Linked DNA regions of Homo sapiens: all the other regions are linked to region 1. Evidence: promoter capture Hi-C in 16 types of primary human blood cells and fetal thymus (Javierre and others, 2016). All regions are on one chromosome and are shown on one strand. The core of a region is centred on a gene start or on the middle of the fragment in contact, and the rest is flanking DNA. Distances in the headings are between cores, read along the strand shown.

Evidence for each region. The method cuts DNA at HindIII sites, captures the fragments that hold promoters and counts their contacts. A CHiCAGO score of 5 or more calls a contact.
Region 2: the fragment with the promoter of TAF9 here is called in contact with the fragment with the promoter of PIK3R1 in region 1 in 1 of 17 cell types (fetal thymus); the score reaches 5.6 in fetal thymus.
Region 3: a fragment that was not itself captured here is called in contact with the fragment with the promoter of PIK3R1 in region 1 in 6 of 17 cell types (naive B cells, monocytes, non-activated CD4 T cells and 3 more); the score reaches 7.5 in naive B cells.
Region 4: a fragment that was not itself captured here is called in contact with the fragment with the promoter of PIK3R1 in region 1 in 1 of 17 cell types (naive B cells); the score reaches 5.3 in naive B cells.

Annotation. Positions count from the first base shown.
Region 1 is chr5:68,214,117-68,217,555 of GRCh38, reverse strand. It overlaps PIK3R1 (phosphoinositide-3-kinase regulatory subunit 1), which reads right to left and starts at 1,800. Exons shown (of 16, transcript NM_181523.3): 1 at 1,607-1,800. RefSeq lists silencers at 1,084-2,183, 2,404-2,623. The HindIII fragment of the contact is 2,835 bases long and covers 965-3,439 here.
Region 2 is chr5:69,367,527-69,370,769 of GRCh38, reverse strand. TAF9 (TATA-box binding protein associated factor 9) reads left to right here and starts at 1,250. Exons shown (of 3, transcript NM_003187.5): 1 at 1,250-1,307. It overlaps AK6 (adenylate kinase 6), which reads left to right and starts at 1,250. Exons shown (of 5, transcript NM_016283.5): 1 at 1,250-1,307. The coding sequence starts at 1,280. RAD17 (RAD17 checkpoint clamp loader component) reads right to left here and starts at 952. Exons shown (of 19, transcript NM_133338.3): 1 at 837-952. RefSeq lists an enhancer at 149-698. The HindIII fragment of the contact is 4,867 bases long and covers 769-3,243 here.
Region 3 is chr5:67,171,079-67,174,421 of GRCh38, reverse strand. No RefSeq gene overlaps it. Among named protein-coding and RNA genes, the nearest start is that of CD180, 24 kb to the left of the region's middle. The HindIII fragment of the contact is 3,845 bases long and covers 1-3,343 here.
Region 4 is chr5:67,152,321-67,155,574 of GRCh38, reverse strand. MAST4 (microtubule associated serine/threonine kinase family member 4) reads right to left here. Exons shown (of 29, transcript NM_001164664.2): 25 at 2,709-2,938; 26 at 1,995-2,117. Among named protein-coding and RNA genes, the nearest start is that of CD180, 43 kb to the left of the region's middle. The HindIII fragment of the contact is 2,396 bases long and covers 217-2,612 here.

The DNA of each region.
Region 1 (3,439 bases), core at 551-3,050:
CTAAGAAAACTCTTATCTGCTTTCTTCTAAACGGTTTTTCAAGAACAGTGTAATCTGTCAAAAAGTTGTATAGCTAGTGAGTTGCTTTTTCTTCCTTTTTCAATGTTAAAAGATACTTGTGGCCTTCTGTGCAGAAGTCACCAAATTCCTAGTAATTCAAACTGTGACAATCTAATATTCTAATAACCTGCTTAAGAAATGAACCTGTCTGCCCACTCCAACCCTTCCTAGCTAATATCTAACCATCTTTAAGGTTGCCAAAACGTAACAGAACTAATGAAGCATTAAAATATAACTCCACATCAAGCCTTGACCAATAAGCTCTGTGAATATCCCTCCTGATTACTAAAACTTGAGCCTCATCACACCAAAATGACAATCTTATGTTGCATTCAAAACCCGGAACTGCTTTATCCATTGGTACTTCGCACTGGCTGACAAAGAGGAAAAGAAGAGAAAAAAGAAAAAAAACCTAAAATCATGAAGCCCCCAAATAAAGAGCAGACTCACACTCGGACACCAACAGCGCTGCAGCTCAAGGGATTAACGGTGGAAGTGAGACCTTTCCGATATTAATAGCGCCCCGGGAAACAGAAGAATTCCCCCAAACCCAGTTGACACACATTCTGCATTCAACACGTAACAGCCATTCTGCATATATCCTTGCATTTCAGGCTCCAATTCTGGTTATCAAAGTGTATTTCTGTACAGGAGTGCCTGGCCAGAGGTTTTCTGTTCTCTTTGTCTTGTGATCTGAGGGGCAGTTTCTGAGCTTAGGTTAGAGCTGTGGTTTCCAGAGAATTGCCCACGATATTTTAGCTCCGGGTTGCAGGCTCCCTGGCTCTCCCCAGCCGGCTCCATATTGCTGGGCAGGTCCCTCCCGCCTCGCCCCACGTTCCAAAAGCTGGATTTCCGGGCGGTTCCAAGACCCCACTAAATATGCCTCCAACAACCTGCCCAAGCTTGGCTGGCAATAAACGCTGAGTTAGGGCCCCAGCGACCAACCGCCCCGAGGCGCACTTCCCCCACCCCGGAAGAGGAGGGCGGCAAACTTCGGAAGGCGGGGGTTAGGGGACGAGCTCCGGGGACCACCGCCGCCTCGCCCGCCCCGGGAAGGGCCCGGGCAGCGACCCTGGCTGCAGCTGGAGGGCCACGGGGGAAGGGAGCGCTCCTTCCCGCAACACGAAGGCAGCGGCCAGGGCGCTCTCCTCCGGTGAGGGGCCCCGGAAAACTGCAGCAAGGCGACAGCGGGGACCCTCCGAAGTGTGCGGTGACGGAGGGTGGGAGGAAGCCCGAGCTCGTCGGCAACTCCGGGGGCAAATGCGACCGGCGGCGTGCAGGACCAGCTCGCAGGAGGACGGGGGAAACGGGAGTCAGGATGGCGGGGATCTCACAGGACGCCGGCCGCGCGCGGGGGTAGTGCTGCCCGGCGGCCAGGAGATGCCGGAGGCGGGGAGGGCCGGTGGCCAGCCCGCTTCCCCCCGGCGGGGCTCTGCAGAAGGAGAAGCCGCTGCCAGTGACAGGAAGAGAGTCGCGGCAGCCGTGCACACATGCACCGCCTCCCCCGCCCGAGCACACACACCCGGGGCTGCTGCTGCCTACCTACCCCGCCCGCCGGCTTCCTTCCTCTGCGGGGCCCGCGCTGCAGCGGTGGCCTCCTGCCCGCTCGGTTCCGACCGGCCTCCAGCCCGGCTGCGACCCGCCGGCCGTGCCCGATCCGTGCTTGCCGTCTCCGACAGCTAGCCTGCCGCCCTCGCCGCTGCCGCTGCTTCCTCCAACTCCGCTCCAGCTGCTGGCGACTCCTCTCCGTGCGCCCGCAGCTCCAGCGCCCGGCGCTAGCCCCGCCTCCGGCCCGGCCCCGCGCGCCCCGCCCCCGAGCCCACACCAACCAGAGCCCGCGGCTCCGCCCCTTTCCGTCCGCACGGCTCGGGCCTCCGAGCCGGCGGCTGGCAGTGGGGGAGCGAGCTCAGGCCTGGCGGACCCTTCCTGCCACCGCCCTCGCCTTCCGCCCCCCAGCCGCGGGGATGCCCCGGGCGGCCGTGCCGCGCGCTGCCTCCGCTGCGGAGTGCTCTGGCTCTACACGTCCCGGGCCCGCCCGGCTGCTGGGCGTCTCCCAGCGCAGAGGCGGAGGGGTTCGGGGAGGTCGAAGACAAGTTCAGACCTCCCTGGAGGCTGGCTGCGTCTCTAATCCGAGTGTCTTTCAGCCAACCCCAGGCTTTTTCGAGCCCCTAGCGCCCCAGCAGAGTGGCTGGGGTGGGGAGGACTCGGATTCCAGAGCTCGCCAAAGCGGAGAGGCCCTGCAATTCCTGGTCTCGCCAGCACTGCCTTCCGAGTGGGCGGAAAACCCGCGGCACCCGCCTGGCGCTCCGGGGGTGAAGGAGGGGTGAAAGGGTGAACCGGAGGGACGGGCGCCCGCAGCCTGCCGCTGGCTAACTCCGGCAGCCTGGCACCGCCGCCTCCGGGAGCCAGGCGGACCCGCGAGAAGGGAAGAGAGTTTTCTGAGGGCGTACGCTGGCTGATGGCTTCTAGTCCTGAGATGACAGAGCAAATGGAGGTCACTCAGGCAGACCACGGGCCCCTCGGCGTTCGCGGAGTCGGGGGCGGGGTTGGCGGGGGGTGGGGTTGGCGCGGGCGGGGGGGGCGGGGAAGCGCAGGTGAATTACATTGTCTCTTAAAGGTGTTAGTTTTGAAATGCATATTCTTCAAGTAATAATTACCTAAGTTGCTCCAGAAAAATTTGATGTTGGTTCAAACCTTCCACTGATGGTAAGATGGAATGCCAGCACCACGTGTGCCACTCTTTCATATTAAAACATGTGAGAATCTGCTTCCTAAAAGCTCTTTCCAGATTCTCCTTTCTGCAGCTTAAAGCCCTGCACCCGCCCACCCTGTTTGCCTAAAGCCCTTTTATAGTTCCCTCCCAGTTTCCTTGCAAGAAAACTCTTAAAAACAAACACACAAAACCTAAGCACTTGGCCTCTGTAAAACGTTGAATTTGGTGGTTTATTCTTGTGGACGTTGGAAGTAGAGGGAAGAACGTCCTAAAATTCATCGCTTATCCTTAAAAAATATCATTTTTAAAGGTGACTCACCTAACAGAAAAGTAAGCTCCACTTTAGGCTATTCAGACACTGGTGTTTCTATTATTCCAAGATGTCTCTTGCAGAGGCGACACAAAAACAGGCAGCTACCCACATCATGTTTAAGAATACACTTTATCTGAAAGCAAATAGGAAATTTACCAAGGTACCTTCTTCACACCTACTGTGTGAAATGAAGGACTTCATGCATTCTCTGTCTGTAAATGGAATGATATACCTTGCCTTGCAGTAGAATTACTTTGATCCAATCCAATAAGCTGAGATGAAACTGCTGTGACCTTCCCAGTATTTCCTTTAGGTTCCGCTCTGAACAAACTCTAACAGTGAAAACCTTGCTA
Region 2 (3,243 bases), core at 1-2,500, 1.2 Mb before region 1:
TGTTCAGCCCTCCGCCCCAAATCGTTCACGATTAGAGACTGTGACGTTTCAAAAGGTATACAGGTGGAAAAAAAACACCTATTTGAGTAAATATAGTTTGTAGCTCGAAATAAAAGATGCAGACCAGGGGCCGGACGCGGTGGCTCATGCCTGTAATCCCAGCACCGTGGGAGGACGAGGCGGGCGGATCATCTGAGGTCAGGAGTTTGAGACCAGCCTGGCCAAAACATGGTGAAACCCCGTCTCTATTAAAAATGCAAAAATTAGCCGGGCGTGGTGGTGGGCGCCTGTAATCCCAGCTACTCTGGAGGCTAAGGCAGGAGAATCACTTGAACCCAGGAGGCGGAGGTTGCACTCCAGCCTGGGCGACAAGAGTGAGACTCCGTCTCAAAACAAAACAAAAACAAACAAACAAACAAAAAAAGGTGCAGACTGTTGTCACGGTCAGGTCTCTATTCACTCTTGAAAACAAGATTGACAATTACCTCCTTTAAAAAGCAGATAACTGTCCCTGAAGATGCGAGGTTACTGAAATGAGATGTCAGAGGTAGACCTTCAAGACTATTCCTAGCCGACCCACCACCACCCCACACAGTGAACAGGGAATACTAAGCTCAAATATTCGTCCAACGTAATCCTGTAATCAGTGGGGTGCCGGGTTGAGCTCGCAAATCCCCGCTGCAGGACAGGGCTCTGCACCCTCAATCTTCTCATCCCCAGATGGGATGGGCGGGTCGGGAGGAGGAGCGACGAGAGCCCAGGAAAGCTTGAAGGCAGAGATAGACTCACGTCTCTAAGACATATACATAATATAGCCGCAACCGCGGCGGCCTTACTTTCCCGGAGCTGCATCCCCTTTTAGGCGAAGAGCGGAGGCGACCAGGGACTACCCTAGGTGAAAGGGCAGCCACCTGGCCCTACCCGGGCTCAACGCCGAGCCTCTCGGAGGTACGGCCTCCCGGGGACCTTCCAGACTGGTCGGCGCAAGCGAAGGGCGGGGACCACCGAAGGAGTGTGTGACTTAGGCATCCAGCGCACTGCCTGACCCGAAGTACCGACCCGAGTTATGCCCACCCTCCAACTTTGCGACGGAAATGTGTCATCGAAAGCCAGGTAACCAGTGGGCCGCGGCTGGGCCGCCGGGGCAGGCTAGGGGCGCCGCGGTGGGCTTCGGGGCCTTTGGGGCCGTGGGCTTTTGCTGCCGCCCGCCCCTTCCGGCTCCTCCCTGTAGAGCAAAGGGCACGTGAGCGAGGCGCCCGAAGCCGTCGCGGCGGGGACCATGTTGCTTCCGAACATCCTGCTCACCGGTCAGGGCGCGCGGCCGGGAGGGACTGGGCTGGGGCAGGCTGGGGGCGCAGAGTGCTCTGGGCATCGGGCGCCCAGGTGGGGGCCCCTCACTGCCCTCTTCAGAGGCCGGCCGAGGGCCACGAGGCGGTTGTCAGCGCCCCGGGAGCCGACCCTCGCGGGCGTTGCGGGAGGCGAGGGAGGGGACGCGGAACGTTAATTCCGTTGGCCTGAGGCTCCGGGGGGGGGCGGGGGGGGGTGGAGAGAGGTCGGCAGATCCAGCTCTCCAGCTTGGCAACCTGCTTAGTCTTTCTGAATCTGGTATTTCGTTTGTAAAATGGGTTGTTGATTCTTTGGCAGGGTTGGCCTTGGGATTTTTAGCGAAATAACGTAAGGCCATATCTGCTTCCCGGTAGAGTCATTAATGGTGGATGCCTCACTCCTTAGGCCTCCGTGGGCCGTATTTTATTTTTTCTTTGCTTCTGATAAACGCCTCAGATTAGATTTCGGTAAACGAGTTCAGATGTTTGTGACGTGACGAAATTGCTGTATGCTTTTGTTGAGTTACATCAAAGGATCCCCCCGCCCCTTAAAAGGAAGGCATATAGAGCATTTCGGGTCGTTTCTCGCGTAGGAGTGGGTCTTTGAAGCCATACTCAGGGTGCATGTTATCAGTGAAGGGAATTAAAATGCTGCATAACGACTTTAACGAATATTTTTGCTAGCCGTTTAGTCCTGAAAGTGTTTATCAAATTGTAGGCCATTCGTGGAAAAATCTAATGCATGTAGATTTTATTGCAAGGTACAGAAAAATTAAGACTCTTTGTGGGAACAGTAAAGTTACATCATTCACCCAAAGGTAAAATTGTTGGCAGCGCACAAGACATGTCTGTTTCTGAGAGGTGCAGATTAACCACCCCACAAATAACGTTTAGAATTTTAGATTCCTTAAGCGGAAGATTTTACATCTTTTTGCATGGATCAAACATAGTGCCCTGGTTATTAAGTCATTGTCAAAACTTTAAAGTGAACATTTTATTGAAAACATGTTGAGTCCAGGGTTCAGACTTGGTGTATTATAGTGGACTTGAGGTGACCGTTATTCTCCTGGGTATGGGAACTGGATTATCCCTGTTATCTTTATGCTTAAGTTTAATTTCAGGGATGTTAAATCTGAATAGCTGAAAATTATGAATTTGATGATCTTGAAATGTAATTTTAATAGGTATCAGAAGGGGAAGGTAAAGAACAATGTATATAGTATTGTCATTTATGTAAAAGGGAATATGTGTTGTATTTATATAACAAAGAGTATGTACATATATGTACATTTACATGCAAACATAAATAGGGTTTCTTTGGGAAAGGAAACTGGTTTACAGTGGTTATCTCTAGGGAAGGGCGCAAGGGGTCAGTAGAGGTAATTTTCAGACTGCTTAATTTTAACATGAACAGTTTTGTTTTTGTTCTTGTTTTTGTTTTTGTTTGAGACAGAGTCTCATTATGTTGGCCAGGCTGGTCTCGAACTCCTGCGCTTAAGCGATCCTCCCGCCTTCTCCTCCCAAATTGCTGGGATTACACGCGCGAGCCACCACACGTGGCCATGAACAGTTTTTAAATCTTTATAAGTTAAAGCAAATAGGCCAGGTGGGTGGCTCATGCCTGTAAATCCCAGCACTTTGGGAGGTGGAGGTGGGGAGATCGCTTGAGCTCAGGAGTTTGAGCTTAGCCTAAGCAACATAGCCAAACCCCGTCTCTACAAAAATTAACCAGGGCATGGTGGTGCATACCTGTGGTCCTAGCTACCGGACAGGCTGAGATGGGAGGATTGCTTGAGCCCAGGAGGTAAAGGCTCTAGTGAGCCAAGTTCCACTGCACTCCAGCCTAGGTAACAAAGAGATATCTTGTCTTTAAAAAAAGAAAAAGGTAAATAAATTATTGTAATTGATTCGAGGTGGC
Region 3 (3,343 bases), core at 411-2,910, 1.0 Mb after region 1:
ATGTTGAGGTAGAATGAGTCAAGTATCATCCTCTACCTGGGAAATTTGTTTTTGCTTTTCAACCTTGCATGCACATTAGAATCACCTGTGGAAGTTATTTTATTATTTTTTAATTATAGATGCCTAGGCCCAATCTTCAGAGATTCTAACTCCCTGGTGTGGCCAGGCAGGGCATTCATGTGGTCAACAGGCAGGCAGCATCTGAGTCATTTGAGAAGAGCTTGTTAGAATTTTCTGCGCTATCATAGGCCTTCTGAACCAGAATTAGCAAGATCCCACATGAATCATGTGCATGTTAGAGCTGAGATGTGCTGCCTCACCTGAAGTCTTCAAGCCAACCCCTTTTCTTCTTGTAAATGCTTGGCAGTTCAGTGCTCAACAGCCAAGGGAAGCTGCCATTGCCCCCTGTGGGAGGGTTAGTACTATTTTTAGAAGTGATTTCTCCCTACTTTAATTCCTATCTCTAGTTCATGAATTCTCTGGTCCTCTTGATAGTCTTGCCCCATGTCCCCACATCATGCCACCTCCAAAAGGCAGAACTTGTAATTTTTTTTTTATTATTAAAGTTTTAGGGTACATGTGCACAATGTGCAGGTTAGTTACATATGTATACATGTGCCATGCTGGTGCGCTGCACCCACTAACTCGTCATCTAGCATTAGGTATATCTCCCAATGCTATCCCTCCCCCCTCCCCCTACCCCACAACAGGCCCCAGAGTGTGATGTTCCCCTTCCTGTGTCCATGTGTTCTCATTGTTCAATTCCCACCTATCAGTGAGAATATGTGGTGTTTGGTTTTTTGTTCTTGCGATAGTTTACTGAGAATGATGATTTCCAATTTCATCCATGTCCCTACAAAGGACATGAACTCATCCTTTTTTATGGCTGCATAGTATTCCATGGTGTATATATGCCACATTTTCTTAATCCAGTCTATCATTGTTGGGCATTTGGGTTGGTTCCAAGTCTTTGCTATTGTGAATAATGCCACAATAAACATACGTGTGCATGTGTCTTTATAGCAGCATGATTTATAGTCCTTTGGGTATATACCCAGTAATGGGATGGCTGGGTCAAATGGTATTTCTAGTTCTAGATCCCTGAGGAATCGCCACACTGACTTCCACAATGGTTGAACTAGTTTACAGTCCCACCAACAGTGTAAAAGTGTTCCTATTTCTCCACATCCTCTCCAGCACCTGTTGTTTCCTGACTTTTTAATGATTGCCATTCTAACGGGTGTGAGATGGTATCTCATTGTGGTTTTGATTTGCATTTCTCTGATGGCCAGTGATGGTGAGCATTTTTTCATGTGTCTTTTGGCTGCATAAATGTCTTCTTTTGAGATGTGTCTGTTCATGTCCTTCGCCCACTTTTTGATGGGGTTGTTTGTTTTGGCATTACCATTCAGGACACAGGCATGGGCAAGGACTTCATGTCTAAAACACCAAAAGCAATGGCAACAAAAGCCAAAATTGACAAATGGGATCTAATTAAACTAAAGAGTTTCTGCACAGCAAAAGAAACTACCGTCAGTGAACAGGCAACCTACAAAATGGGAGAAAATTTTCGCAACCTACTCATCTGACAAAGGGCTAATATACAGAATCTACAATGAACTGAAACAAATTTACGAGAACTTGTAATTTTTGTAGGCTGCATCACATTGTGCTTACATTGTTATAAAGAAGGAAAAATAATGCCTTGAAGAGCTGGGCACCCTTGTAGTCCCAGGTACTCGAGAGGCTGAGCAGAGAGGATCCCTTGAGCCCAGGGGTTTGAGGCCAGCATGGGCAACCCATGTCTCTTTAAAAAAATGCCTTGGGCTTAAAAGAGGTAGCCCTCAGTTTATTAGGGAAATATTATACACCCAAACACATATTTAGCTACATTTCAATTTTTTAAAATCCCAAATAAGATAACACTACGTGGATGCTGAAAATACAGTACAAGAAATTGTGCCCCAGACTGGACAGACCCACAAGAGCATGTCTAATTGTTTGCCCTTTAATGACCTCATTAGTTTTACCTGGTCGAGCTCAAGGTAAATACCTTTAAAACTTCAATCTCTTGCTTTTCATTTAAAGTTTCTTTTATGTATTCGCTCTAAACTGGTTGTTCACTTAATAGCTCTTGCTATGGCCATTATTGGCTCTGTGATGTGTGTACTTAATATCCTTTGTGGGTTTTTTCTTTTATGGTGAAGACCGACTTTTCTGCATAGCATGATACCAAGTCCCATTAAAATGACCATTTCCATACTTACTTTTAAAAACTGTGAATCTTAGCAGAGTGGGTTCCTCTAAGCAGGGAAAACTACATCACGCAGGCAGTGAAAAACACTGTCATGATTCTGTCCCATTTCATCTTGCAATTTATATTGTAGTAGAATAGTGTGTGGGAGGAAGAAGGTCTCGTCTAATGGTAGAGGTTAAATGTATGGGCTGTCCAGTCAGATCGCTTGAGTTCAAGCCTCAGTCCTGCCAATCACGAGGGTTAGTCACTTAACCTCTTTCCAAGTTTTGGCTTCCTAATTTATAAAATGAAGCAACGTATAGTTCAAATGGCACGGAGATTAAATAAGAAGATGGAAATAAAGTATTTAGTGTGTTACTTGGCTTCTAGTAAATGTGCTACAAACAGTAGCGACTACTAATACTTCCTTTCTTGTTCAATTCGGTCCAGCAAATGTATTAGTCCGTTCTCACACTGCTATAAAGAACTGCTCAAGACTGGGTAATGTATAAAGGAAAGAGGTTTAATTGACTCGTAGTTCAGCATGGCTGGGGAGGCCTCAGGAAATTGACAATCATGGCAGAAGGCAAAGGGGAAGCAAGCCACCTTCTTCACACAGCGGCAGAAAGAAGTGCTGAGCGAAGGGTGGGGAAGAGCCCCTTATAAAACCATCAGTTCTCATGAGAACAGCATGAGGGAAACTGCCCCCATGATTCAGTTACTCCACCTCGTCTCTCCCTTGACACGTGGGAATTATGGGGGTTACAATTTAAGAGGAAATTTGGGTGGAGACACAAAGCCTAACCATATCAGCAAATACTTATTGATGTCTCCGATGTGCTTTGTCCTAGAAGTAAAAAACAAGACAGAGAACCAGGGAGCTTGAAGTCTAGCAAAGAAGATACACATGTAGAAAGGTAACTCCAAAATAACGCAGTGAGTGCCATGAGGCAGATACACAGTGAAGCAAAGACAGTCCACAGGTCGGTCCAGGCCTTTCCAAAAGGCTTCCTCCAGATGTCTGAGTCCAGCACACATGCTGAGCTGGAGTTATCTAGGGTAAGGATACATTTAAGGAACTGGCCTTTACCCGAAGAATATGGGTGC
Region 4 (3,254 bases), core at 165-2,664, 1.1 Mb after region 1:
TTAAACTAATGCTATACTTAAAAAGCAACTTGGTTGAAAAGAAAGTTTCTTAGATCACAGAAGTTAAGCCTGGCTAATTGGAACAGGTAATGGGACTGGGCCAAGTATCGTCTCCACCTGTAATGCTAGTGGGTGAAGAATGACCTCGGTCTACTTAAAAAGTTGTTTTTAGAAAGACTGATGCTGTCTAAAAGCTTTCCTCATGGCAGGAAAGCTTTGAGGTGAAGCTGAAGGAGGACACTGTCAGGGATTCATATAGCCAGTGGGGAGCTGAACTGGATAACCATCACATTTTATAATTCCATGGATCGAGGATGCTGAGTGACTTTGGACAAGTTTGCCTATGCATGGAAGATAGTGCTCCCATAGCAGGTTCACTTTGAAGTTGTGAAGGTAAACAAGACCAAATATGTGAATCTATGAAACATGGAAAATGCTTACTATATTCATAATCCAAAAGACAAACACTATACAGGTAGTCATGCAGTTCTAAACATACACCTACACCCCTGTCAGGACTTCTCCACCTTTCTCTAAGACTGCCATGACATTCCGTAAAGTCCTTTGCAAGTATAAAACACTGTGTAAACAGCATTCGAGAGTACCATAATACAGCCAACTTCCCTGCTGTTAAACCAATGAAGGCACACAGGAGCCCAGCACTGACACTAGTCACTTAATACTCTGATTTCAAGAGTCACTGGTTAAATTTGGAAGGAAGCTGCATGATTACACAGTTCACTGGGAAGATAATTAAATCCCTTGTATCCTCTTGGTTTCATGACATTGCTTACTCCTCTTGAGTGCTTCCTTTATGAACACAGGCAGGATGTTCTTTGGATTTGTGACAGAGTACACCGTGGCTTCAAAGGGTGCCAATGGCTCTCCACTCCACTGTTTAAGCAGTTTCAGTGACACACATCGACTGCATCCAGAAATGAAGGCTTTGGGTTGTGCAAGGTGCTCCGTAGCCAGATGAGGGCAAGACAATAGAAATGGGATCATCTGAGTCTGCTAAGAGACCTTGCCAGAGTCCTCTAGGGGAAATACACATTCAAATTTCATAGAAGCAGGAAGAGAAGTTTTAAAATACAGAATTCTATTAAAATACTTTACAAAATAAATCACGAAAGTGATCAATTATGTCTCAGCAAAATAAGCAAATGTATACTTCTCAATATATACATTTCAGTGTATTATTTCTTATTCTAATGTTGTGAACAGACATATGATACTATCTAGAGATATGCTGTCGCAGGAGCTGTTCTGCATAAAATACAACGCTGCTATAAAGAATGAAAAAGACAAATCAAATAACTGAACAGAACTATCTGAGAGCTATCTGAGAGGATCAGTGTGTGTCCTTTCTCTCTCTCCATTTACAGTCATGCTTCCTGTGACCTTCTTACTCCATAGGCTATATTCTGCTTACATTTTAAGTAGAAATTGATCCCTGTTTAAGTTAATTTGTATGGTGGGGAGGGAGGCCTAATAATTGCTAGAACTTCTTCTTTCAGTACCACTTATTTTTTATAATTTATAGTACATGTGTATATATTTACAATTTTATCTTTCAAAGGAACTCTAATTCTCAGACTAAACCTTCAGATCAAACCTCACAGTTTAATACAATTTTGTCTTCTAGTATACTAGAATGAAACCTGTTAGAAGTTCCTGAAGGAAGTCACCTTCAGGATAGGTGACTCTCCAAATAGATGTCACTGTGTAAGGTATATAAACAAAGAGAATTCTTACTACTTACAATTTAGAATGAGAAGCAAAATTAAATTAGGGAATGAGTATGCAGATATAAGGACATTATTTCATGACATAAAACCAGAGAATTCATAATATCTTTGTCTTTAAACTTGAGACTAATGAATACTTTCTCAGTAATCAGACATGGGTGTGACACAGGGAAATCAATCTCCTGGTACTAGCCCCTTTGGGCTGCCTGTCTCATCAGCATGGCCCTGACATAAAACATACAATACCTTCAGTAGGAGTTCTATAACTTCTGTGTGGACAAGTCCATGCACTGGTTCTCCATTGATGTGAGTGATAAGATCTCCAGCCTTCAGTCCTGCCTGGCATGCCGGACTTCCTTCTTCTACATTCTAAAGTCCAAGAGGAGAGGATATTTGTAGGCAAACAAATGACTACTCTAACACCTACTGTGTCTTCTGGGAGAATAATGAGTTAATTAGCAAATGTCCTAAGCCTCTAATAGAAAATCTAACAGGTACGTTTACTATTCCTATTCTATCATTATTCTAAAATAGGAAACTTTCTATGGTACTTAGAAATTTTCAGGTGATTCAGACTGAAAGTACCAGAGCCACAAAGAAAAAAAAATGAATGACCAAAACATTTCAGGTGATTTGAGAAGGTCATTTTTAAAAAGAAGGCTAGGAAAAAATGATAAAATAAAAGAAGGATGGAAATAGGATTGCCTTTGACTATGTCTACCAGCTTGGTATGTAAGAAAGAACAATCGAATATGAAAACTGGACAGAATTATGAGATATTCGTTTTTGCTAAATTCAATTCCACCATACACATACAGGGATGGAGCTCTAAAAGGAAAATGAAACAGGTCGCAAATGCAAGCTTAAAAGTAAATATATTTGCTATTTATCAGCCAACCTATCCACTCTCCAGCTTGGCTGGAAATGAAAAATCCCAAGTGCGAGACATGCAGGTCTTACCCAGACGATATGGTGCACTGTATAGATGTCACTGTCTCCCACATACACCCGGATGGCTCGGATGGTAAAGCCGTAGTTCTTCCCCGAACTGTGGATCACAATCGGCTGATGTGGACTGGCAGAAGCTGCTGAGGAATCTCGGCTGGGAGAGGAATCTCGTGAAGAAGAAGGGTCCGAGGACAGGGAATGGGGAGACATTGGACTTCCCAGAGGGGAAACAGCAAACATATCTGTAACAAAGAAGCCAGTCATCAAAGCCCATGTGGCTCACACAAGCATCCATGCAGGCAACCCTCACCCCATGAGCCTTGCCAGGACTGGGGGCATAGTCACAACACAAATCCATTTGTTTCCAATAGCAAAATGAAGATGAAATAATACAAAAATGTTTCTATCAGTAACTAGCATGAATTCCAAAACTGTCAAACTTCAAGAGTGTTGCTATTTTAACTAATTTTTCAGTTAGGAAAGAGAAAGAAATTTCAATACTCTCATGTTATAATTTTTTAGTTTCTATGCTTATTAAAAGACACCACAAGGATTAGC